Regions from separate parts of the Homo sapiens genome. Here region 2 is linked to region 1. The links are contacts of gene promoters, found by promoter capture Hi-C in human tissues and cell types (Jung and others, 2019). All regions are on one chromosome and are shown on one strand. Each heading gives the region's core, a stretch centred on a gene start or on the middle of the fragment in contact. The rest is flanking DNA. Distances are from core to core; before and after follow the strand shown.

What was found. Contacts are between HindIII fragments. The study calls those that stand out against the background at their distance.
Region 2: a contact is called between a fragment that was not itself captured here and the fragment with the promoter of NUMA1 in region 1, in 1 of the 25 tissues and cell types used here (heart left ventricle).

Annotation. Positions count from the first base shown.
Region 1 is chr11:72,077,504-72,082,646 of GRCh38, forward strand. It overlaps NUMA1 (nuclear mitotic apparatus protein 1), which reads right to left and starts at 3,039. Exons shown (of 27, transcript NM_006185.4): 1 at 2,955-3,039. LRTOMT (leucine rich transmembrane and O-methyltransferase domain containing) reads left to right here and starts at 3,347. Exons shown (of 9, transcript NM_001145310.4): 1 at 3,347-3,382. It overlaps LRRC51 (leucine rich repeat containing 51), which reads left to right and starts at 3,347. Exons shown (of 6, transcript NM_145309.6): 1 at 3,347-3,382. RefSeq lists enhancers at 2,450-3,405, 3,125-3,394, 3,406-4,360. The HindIII fragment of the contact is 11,805 bases long and covers 1-5,143 here.
Region 2 is chr11:73,110,477-73,115,619 of GRCh38, forward strand. The region is part of intron 2 of FCHSD2 (FCH and double SH3 domains 2); the gene reads right to left. Among named protein-coding and RNA genes, the nearest start is that of FCHSD2, 29 kb to the right of the region's middle. The HindIII fragment of the contact is 4,633 bases long and covers 315-4,947 here.

The sequences.
Region 1 (5,143 bases), core at 1,789-4,288:
AGCTAAACTACCAATCAAGACTGAAAGTGAGCTGGGCACAGTGGCTCATGCCTATAATCCCAGCACTCTGAGAGGCCGAGGCGGGAGGATCACAAGGTCAGGGGATCGAGACCATCATGGCTAACACAATGAAACCCTGTCTCTACTAAAAATACAAAAAATTAGCCAGGCGTGGTTGCGGGCGCCTGTAGTCCCAGCTACTCGGGAGGCTGAGGCAGGAGAATGGTGTGAACCTGGGAGGCGGAGCTTGCAGTGAGCCGAGACTGTGCCACTGCACTCCAGCCTGGGCAACAGAGTGAGACTCCATCTCAAAAAAAAAAAAAAAACAAAAAACTGAAAGTGAAATAAAGATTTTTTAAATGAAGACAGTGTTTACCACTAACAGATTCCCACTGGACAAACATCTGAAGGATGTATGTATCTATGCAATAAAAAAGGAAGGAATAAAATGCAAGGAAAAATAGTGAAAAAGCAAACAGTAGACATACATGGGTAAAATGAAATAATCACTAACAATACAAAACAATAAACATATTTTAATTGTGTTGGGGTCTCACTCTGTTGCCCAGGCTAGCTAAGAACTCCTGGGCTCAAGCCATTCTCCCGCCTGCTCCTCCTGCCTCAGCCTCCAGAGTAGTTGGGATGACAGGGCAAGCCACCATGCCCAGCTACAAAATAATAATTATCAATTAGAATTGTTCAGCTTAGAGATGGATTGACTTTGGGAATGATCTCATTCTAGAAAGTACTCATTTTGAGTCTGGACAACACCTTTTGGTATGTTTAGTGTACACTGGGTAAGAGGCTAAATTAAATGACCACACCATATATTAGGTTAATGCAAAAGTAACTGTGGTTTTTGCCATTACTTTCAATGGCAATAACTGCAATTACTTTTGCACAAACCTAATATCTTCTGATCATAGTTTTATCAATTAGACACAGCTGTCCAAACAGCCCCTGATCAGCTCTGTTCAGCCACCTGAGCAGGGCTTTGCCCTCATCCTAAAAGTTCTAGAATTCAAGTCTTATTTCAAGGCATTCTTCCCACTTCCATGTTCCACATGTAAAAAAGAATTCTACGTTTCTTAACGAGCTTTCAGGTAAGATCTTTAAGCTTTTGGAATGTACCGCTTTTCGCTGTGAACTAAGAGCTTAGACATTACAATTAGTCATCCCTTGCTAGAACTTAGGCTACGAAAAGAATACTTTGGAAGCTTTCACAAAAAAGTATGTGGTTCTTCCTCTAAAGAAGAAAATACCACACAGAAAGAGGGACTGAGGAAACATAAACCCATCTGTGCTGACAGAAAGCTACCTTACATGATCCTCATGTTCGCCCCAGGTTCCCATATATTCACAGCAGTAAAGATCTCCACAAAGCAGAGAGGCCCAACTCCCTTACCATTAAAGCTTTAACGACCAGACAACCCAGAAGTTTGGAAACATAGAACCAGGCAACAGATACTAGAGAGAGGGAATTATGTATTAAAGCAAGAAAATATCATCACGTTTTCAAGAGGGAGTGCCATTCCAGTAAAGAGGACAGCTTAATACTGAGGTTCAAATGCCACTAAATGAAAACGGGAAAGCGAAATTCCTGTGCCCTTTCAGCCCAAGAAATTATTCCAAAGCATACATTTATTCCCATTACATGTCGCAAATCCTGCCTAGCCATTAGGATACAGTGACGAAAAAGTCTCTCGTTATCTAGAAGGGCAGACAAACACGCAGACTTTTAAAATACCAGATGGCAGGCCGGGCGTGATGGCTCACGCCTGTAATCCCAAGCACTTTGGGAAGCCGAGGCGGGCGGATCACGAGGTCAAGAGTTCAAGACCGGCCTGGCCAAGATGGTGAAACCCTGTGTCTACTAAAAATACAAAAGTTAGCCGGGTGTGGTAGCGGGCGCCTGTAATCCCAGCTACTCGGGAGGCTGAGGCAGGGAACTGTTTGAACCCGGGTGGCAGAGGTTGCAGTGAGCCGAGATCGCGCCACTGCACTCCGGCCTGGGCGATAGGGCGAGACTCCGTCTCAAAAAAAAAAAAAAATGACAAGTGCTAACTCAGAGGTAAGCAAAAGAGAGTACCCAGAGGCGGCAGCATCAACCCAGTGGGCTCCCGCCCACCCACAATCTTCACACAGTCACACCACTTATAGTCATAAATTTGTACTCTCCGAGGTGCGTGTATGAAACATGTTATCTGTGAGAGTCCATGGATGAAAAACAAAAACAAACAAAAATTAAAAAAAAAAAAAAAAAAGACTTAACCTGTTTTGACCAGGACAACCACCCCAGGAAGTAGGTAAGGCAGGTAAGGTCATTGTTTACATATATGAAAAGTGAGGCTCAAAATACACTGACCAGTCCAAGACAACGCGCGCCCCCACAAAGCACCTTCCCCGTCCCCATTTATGCCCAACCCATAAACCCAAAGTAGAGCCAACCTCGCACTGGCTACGTAACCCGGGCCAAGCTAAACATTATAAACCTCAGGCTCCCCATCTTTAAAGTATAACAGGTGGTTAGAAGATTAAAAAGATAAACATTTGGCAGGTCATTGTGGACGGTGTAGCTCAGAAAATGCTGACTACTGCACTACCATAACTACTGCTATTGTTAACGATAAAAGGCAAAGACTTTCCAGGACCCGACCCCTCGCTTACAAGCCTTTCGGGAACTTGCCCTATACCCCCGACCCCAGTCACCTTCAGATTTAATTCCACAGACACGCCCCCAAACAGACCCTCCCCTTTAAGGCACCCCCCCCCCCCCCGGCTCCTCCCTCTCAGGCGCCTCTCCTCACAAACCTTACCCCCATAGATTCTGCCCTTTCGGACTCGGTTATGGAGGAGGCCTTCCGCTCGCAGCGGCCTCTCCAGCACCCCTTTTAGGCCTGAGCACCCGCAGGGGTGCCCAGGCCGCACGCCAAACGCGGGCCCGCGCCGGTTACCTGGCTGCGCGCTCCCGCTCTGCCTCGCGATTCTCCGGAATCGTACCTCTTCGTGGGCTCGCGCCAGCGCTGTGAGCGCACAATTAGTTTAAACTATGGCCCCGCCCCCTCGCGCTGCCCTCTGATTGGCCTCTGTCGGCGGGGCCCGCTTAAGGACCCGGGAAAAGGAAGTTTGAGGGCCACTGGGAAAGAGAAGGGGTATCACCGCTTCCGGACCCCGGCCTGTACTTGAAGGCAAAGAGAACTACAAATCCCAGCGTCACCCGCGGCCTTGAAGCCCCGCCCCTGACAAACTGAAGGTCCCGGTAAGCATCGCGTCAGTACTTATGGCGCCTGCCGGGTTGTGGTGACGAAAGCAGTTGCCATGGAGTTGCTCTGAGTAACCCTGAGGCAGTGGGACGCCAAGACTGGAGAGGAAGCGACTGCGGGTGAGTCGGGCGGGAAAACAGGAAACCCGTTCTAGGGGACAAGAGATCTATGGAGAAGGGAGGGGCACTCACAGAACGACTAAGAACCTTCCTGCTCGGGGATCTGAGATTTCCCCCACCGACCCTCATCACCTTTCACAGCGAACAAGATACAACACTCACATGGGACAGACTGGGCGAGGGGGAGCAGAGGGAGGGATAGGCGTTGAGATATATATCCATACAGATTTGGGGATGCTTAAGAACCACCCCCAGGGCCGGGAGCGGTGGCTCACGCCTGTAATCCCAACACTGGGAGACCAAGGCGGGCGGACCACTTAAGGCCAGGAGTTCGAGACCAGCCTGAGAAACATGGCGAACCCTGTCTCTACCAAAAACATAAAAAAATTAGCCGGGCTTGGTGGCGCGCTCCAGTGGCCCCAGCTACTAGGGAGGCTGAGGTAGAAGGATCGCTTGAGCCCGGAGATTGAAGCTGCAGTGAGCCGTGATCACGCAACTACACTCCAGCCTGGGCTATAGAGCGATACCTCCATCTCAAAACAAAACAAAACGAAACAAAACAAAAACAAAACAAAACAACGAACCCCGCCCCCAACGCAAACATAAAGCTCCCAAAATCGGATGCTTCAAGTTCCAGGCATAACCTGGGAGATCAGAAACGCCCTCAGAAATGGGGTTGGTTTTCCTCTGAGGAACTGAGACCCTCTTCCAAGACATGCGGTTAGCATTAGATTGAGTAAATCGCAGTCGCTACCCTAATTCTAGAGATGTAGGAAACTTCCTGGGGCGTGAAGTGCCTCATTCCTTCTTCTTCCAAGGAGTAAAACCCCTTCTCAATCTGTCCCCAGATTCCCTTTTCTCCCCACACCTTCTCCGTGGTCCGCTACTCAAAGCTCTACAGTTAGAGCTTCATTTTTTTTAGTACTCACGACAGATCTATTACATTTAGTAACCTACCCAGTGCTTTCACAGTCTCTCTTTTGATACTCTTAACAGCTCTGTGAGTCAAGGATATTTATCTTCATTTCACAGATTGGAAAACTGAAACCCAGAGAAAAGGGACTTGCCCAAGGCCACACACCAAATTAGTGACAGAGCTAGAACTAGACTCCAGTTCTCCGACTTCCAGCTAAGTCTCTTTAGCTTCAGCCTACTGCCTCTATAGCGGAAGGACTTGTTCCAAGGAACAAGTTAAACTGCCCCAGGGAAAAGGAACCTGTGTGGCCTACTTTGTATTATTTACACTTCAGCTGGAATGAATTTCAGATCCTCCCCTGAAACTTTTAATGGGGAAAAGGAACTAGAGAGACTAAGACAATGAGACTTGAACATTTTTAACTAAACAGGAAACAGAAGGGCTAACACAGCACCCATGTCTGAAGTGACCATGATTAGCTGGTTTCTAGCTGGTGACTAGCTGGCCCTGACTGGTCCACTTACTACCTTAAAGTTCTCCCAGGTTTGGTCCTACGCCCTCTTGCCACTGCACTCTATATTCTCTTCTTGGGTACCCCTCCACACCCACAACTTCATTTTCCACCTGTATGCAAATGTACACAAGTGTGTATCTCAAGCCCAGCCCTCATCTCTAAGCTCCAGATCTATATAGCCAATTGCCTCAACATCTCCTTTAGGATACCTCAAAGGCAACCCAAACTCTACATTTCTGAAATTGAAACAATCTCTGTGTATCCCAACCTTTTCCTCCAAGCCTGGATCTCTTCCAGTGCTCCTACCTTTATCCACAATATACCCAAGCCC
Region 2 (5,143 bases), core at 1,381-3,880, 1.0 Mb after region 1:
TAGTTGTTCATAGTACCCATGAATAATCTTTTTAATTTTTTCAGTATTAGCTGTAATGTCTCCTTTTTCATCTTTGATTTTGAGTCTTTTCTATTTTTTCCTAAGTCTATCTAATGTTTGTTGATTATCTTTTCACAAAACCAACTTTTCATTTTGTTGGTCTTTTGTATTGTTTTCTTCATTTCAATTTATTTCTGCTCCGATCTTTATTATTTCTTTTATTCTACTAATTGTGGGTTTGGTTTGCTCTTGCTTTGTCAGCTGCATAAGGTACATCATTAGGTTATCTAGCTGAAGATTTTTTTTTCTTGTTTGATGTAGGTACTTATAGCTATGAACTTCCCACTTCGTACTGCTGTCGTTGTATCTCATGGGTTGTTGGTATGTCATGTTTCCATTATCATTTGTTTTAATAAATTTTTCAATTTCCTCCTTAATTTCTTCATTAACCCACTAGTCATTGTGGAGCACATTGTTTAATTTCCATGTGGTTATATAGTTTCCAAAATTATTCTTGTTATTGATTTCTAGTTTTATTCCATTGTGATCAGAGAAGATACATGCTATTATTTCAGGGGTTTTTTTTAATGTTTTAAGACTTGCTTTGTCACCTGACATATGGTCTATGCTTGAGAATGATCCATGTGCTGAGGAAAGGAATGTGTATTCTGGAGCCACTGGATGAAATGTTCTGTAACTACCAGGTCCATTCGGTCTATAGTACAGATTAAGAGTGATGTTTCTTCGCTGATTTTCTGTTTGGAAGATCCTATCTCTCTTTTTAGCTCTAATATTTGCTTTACATATCTGGGTGCTCCAGTATTGGGTACATATATATTTACAACTGTTATATCTTCTTGCTAAATTGACCTCTTTATCATTATACAATGACCTTCTTTGTCTCTTCTAAAAGTTTTTGTCTGATATATGCATAGCTACTCCTGTTCTTTTTTGGCTTCCATTAGCATGGAATATCTTTCTCCATCCTTTTTTTTTTTTTCAGTCTATGTGTGTCTTTATAGGTGAAGTGTGTTTCCTGTAGGCAACAGGTCACTGGATCTTGTTTTTTTCAATCCAGTCAGCCACTCTATGTCTTTTGATTGAAGAGTTTAATCCATTTACATTCAATGTTGTTACTGATAAAGACTTACTCCTGTTATTTTATTTTTGGGTGTGTGGTCATCTCTTCCTTCTTTCCTTCCTTCCTGTCTTCCTTTTAGTGAAGGTGATTTTCTCTGGTGGGGTGTTTTAATTTCTTGCTTTTTATTTTTTGTGTATCTGTTATATGATTTTTGATTTGAGGTTACCACAAGGCTTGCAAATACTACCATAAAACCCAATTATTTTAAACTGATGACAACACTGATTGCATAAACAAACAAGCAAAAAGAAAACTAATAAAAACCTACACTTTTAACTTTGTCCCCCTATTTTTAACTTTTGGTTGTTACTATTTATATCATATTATACTGGATATGTCTTTAAAAGCTGTTGTAGTTAATATTTTTAATTTGTTCATCTTTTAGTCTTTCTACTTAAGAATAACTTATACATCACAATTACAGTGTTATAAAATTGTTTTTCTGTGTACTTACTATTACCAGTGAGTTTTGTACCTTTAGATAATTTCTTATTGCCCATTAATGTCCTTTTCTTTCTGATTAAAGAACTCCCTTTAGCATTTCTTATAGGACAGGTCTGGTGTTGATGAAATTCCCCAGCTTTTGTTTGTCTGGAAAAGCCTTTATTTTTCCTTAATGTTTGAAGGATATTTTCACCAGACATACCACTCTAGGGTAAAAGATTTCCCCTTTGGCACTTTAAACATGTCATGTCACTCTTTCCTGGTCTGTAAGGTTTCCACAGAAAAGTCTGCTGCTGGACATATTGGAGCTCCATTATGTGTTTTTGTTTCTTTTCTCTTGCTGCTTTTAGGATCTGTTCTTTATCCTTGACATTTGGGAGTTTCATTATTAAATGCCTTAAGGTAGTCTTCTTTGGGCTGAATCTGCTTGGTGTTCTATATGCTTCTTATACTTGAATACTGATAGCTTTCCCTAGGTTTGGGAAGTTCTCTGTTGTTATCCCCGTGAATAAACTTTCTACTCTGATCTCTCTCCCTGCCTCCTCTTTAAGGTCAATAACTCTTAGATTTGCCTTTTTGTTGTTGGTGGTGGTGTTGGTGTTGTTGAGACGGTGTCTCGCTCTGTCGCCCAGGCTGGAGTGCAGTGGCATGATCTCAGCTCACTACAACCTCTGCCTCCCAAGTTCAAGCAATTCTCCTGCCTCAGCCTCCTGAGTAGCTGGGGTTACAGGCATACACTATCATGCCTGGCTAACATTTATTTATTTACTTATTTAGTATTTTTAGTAGAGATGGGGTTTCACCATGTTAGCCAAGCTCGTCTTGAACTCCTGACCTCAAATAATCCACCCACCTCGGCCTCCCAAAATGCTGGGATTACAGGCATGAGCCACTGCCCTCGGCCAGATATGCCCTTTTGCAGCTACTTTCTAGATCTGGTAGGCGTGCTTCATTTTTATTCTTTTTTCTTCTGTCTTCTCTGTGCATTTCCAAAGAGTTTATCTTCAAGCTCACTAATTCTTTATTCTGCTTGATAAATTCTGCTGTTAAGAAATTATGATGCATTATTCAACTCCAGAATTTCTGCTTGATTTTTTGTAAGTATTTCAATCTCTTTGCTAAGCTTATCTGATAGAATTCTGAAGTCCTTCTCTGTGTTATCTCGAATTTCTTAGAGTTTCCTCAAAATAGCTATTTCGAATTATCTGTCTGAAAGGTCACATAGCTCTGTTTCTCCAGGACTGTTCCCTGGTACCTTAGTTTGGTTGATCATCATGCTTCCCAAGATGGTCTTTTTTTTTTTTTTTTTTTTTTTTTTTTTTTCTGAGACAAGGTCTCACTCTGTCACCTAGATTGGAGTGCAGTGATGTGATCTTGGCTCACTGCAACCTCTGCATCCTGGGCTTAAGTGATCCTCCCACCTCAGCCTCCTGAGTAGCTGGGACTACAAGCATGTGCCACCACGCCCAGCTAGTTTCTCTATTTTTAGTAGAAACGGGGTTTCGCCATGTTGCCAAGACTTGGCCTTGATGCTTGTGGATATTTGTCGGTGTCCAGGCATTGAAGAGTTTGGTATTTATTGTAGTCGTCATAGTCTGGGCTTGTTTGTACCCGTCCTTCTTGGGAAAGTTTTCCAGGCATTTGAAGAAACACCCATTTGTACCCATCCTTCTTGGGAAAGTTTGTCAGGTATCTGAAGAAACTTGGGTGTTGTAATCTAAGCCACATCTGCATTAGGGGGCACCCCAAGCCCAGTAATGCTATGTTTCTTGAAAACTTGTAGTGGTACTGCCTTAGTGGTCTTGGTTAAGATCCAGAAGAATTCTCTATATTACTAGGCAGAGATTCTTGTTCTCTTTCCTTACTTTCTCACAACACTTGGTCTCTTTGCTCAAGGGCCTAGGGCTCTACAATCAGCAGGTGATAAAGCAAGCTGGGCCTCTGTCCTTCCCTTTAGGGTGGCAATTTCCCCCATACCCCAGGCAGGTCCAGAGATGCCAGTAGCCAGGTACTGGAGTCAAAAACCTTTGAAATCTACTTGATGCTCTATTCTACTGCAGCTAAGCTGGCACTCAAACTATAAGACAAAAGTCCTTCCTATTCTTCCCTTCTCTTTCCACAAGCAGAAGAGCTTCTCCCCAAGGTCATCACCACCCCAGAACCACAGAGGGTACTGCAAGGCTACTGCCAATGTTCACTTCAGGCTCAAGTGCTCTTCAGTCATCTTGTGGTGAATTCTTCCAGACCTGGGACTAACCCTTCAGCGCAGTAGGCTCCCATCTGGCCCAGGGCAGGTCCAGAAACGCTGTCCAAGGGCCAAATCCTGGAATCAGAGGCCCCAAGAGCCTGCTTGGTGCTCTACCCAACTGTGGCCAAGCTGATACCTGAGGTGCAAAACTAAATCTCCTTCACTTTTCCCTCCCCTTTTCTCAAGCAGGAGTTTCTCACTGTAGCCACCATAGCTGGAAATATGCTGGGTCTCACCTGAAGCCAGCACATCACAGAAGCTCACCCAAGACCCACAGCGTACTAACTAGGTATTGCTGCTGGTTCCTCAGGGCCCAAGGGCACTTTAGTCAGCAGGTAAAGAATGCCACCAGGACTGGATCCTTCTCTTCAAGGCAGGAGTTTCCCTTCTGGCCCAGGGTGTGTCTACATATGTCATCCAGAAGCTAGGGCCTGATGACTCCGCCCAGTGCCCTATCCTCCAGTGGTTGAGCTGGTATCCAAGATGTAAGATAAAAGTCCTCTTTACTCTTACCTCTCCTCTTCTCAAGCGGAAGGAGGGGGTCTTTTTTGAAGCTACAAGCTGTGCGCCCAAAACTGAGGGAGGGGTGGCACAAGTACTCCCTCGGACGCCATGGCTGGTGTCTCACTAGGTCATGTGCCCCACCATGTTCACTGGCTCTGAGCCCAGCTCAGCACAAAGACTTGCCTAAGAATTGGAGTCCTAGTGTCTTAGACTGCCTTTCAAGTTTATGTAGGGCCTACAGCAATTTAGCCTGCAGTGGCAAGGCGTGCTGAAATTCAAGTTCCAACAACTGGGCTGGGAGATTCCCCTCTGACTATGGCTGGCCTAAATGCTCCCTCCATGAGTGGTCATTGGCTAAGTTTAGCCCAGTTTTGCTTTCCCCTTCGACAGAACAGCACTGAGTTCAATGGAGGGTCTCAATCACAGCACTCTCCCTCCCTGACATGCAGAATCTCCACACCATGCAGCCAGTGCCAGGGTATGGAAGAGGGGTGGCGTTGGCAATTCAAGACTCTCTTTCCTACCTTCTTCAGTGCCTCTTTTGTATTTTTAGCAGAGATGGGGTTTCACTGTGTTAGCTAGGATAGTCTCGTTCTCCTGACGTTTGGCCTCCCAAAGTGCTGTGAGCCACTGCGCCCGCCCTATCTCACTGTTTTTAAATGAAAACAATCTTATATATCTTTTCCAACTCTATACTTTCGTGTCGTTTTCATGTCTTCTGGCACTGGAGGGTGCATGCATCAAGGTTCTTCAGAGAAACAGAGTGAATAGGGAAGAGAGAAAACACGAGAGAGAAGGCAGATAGC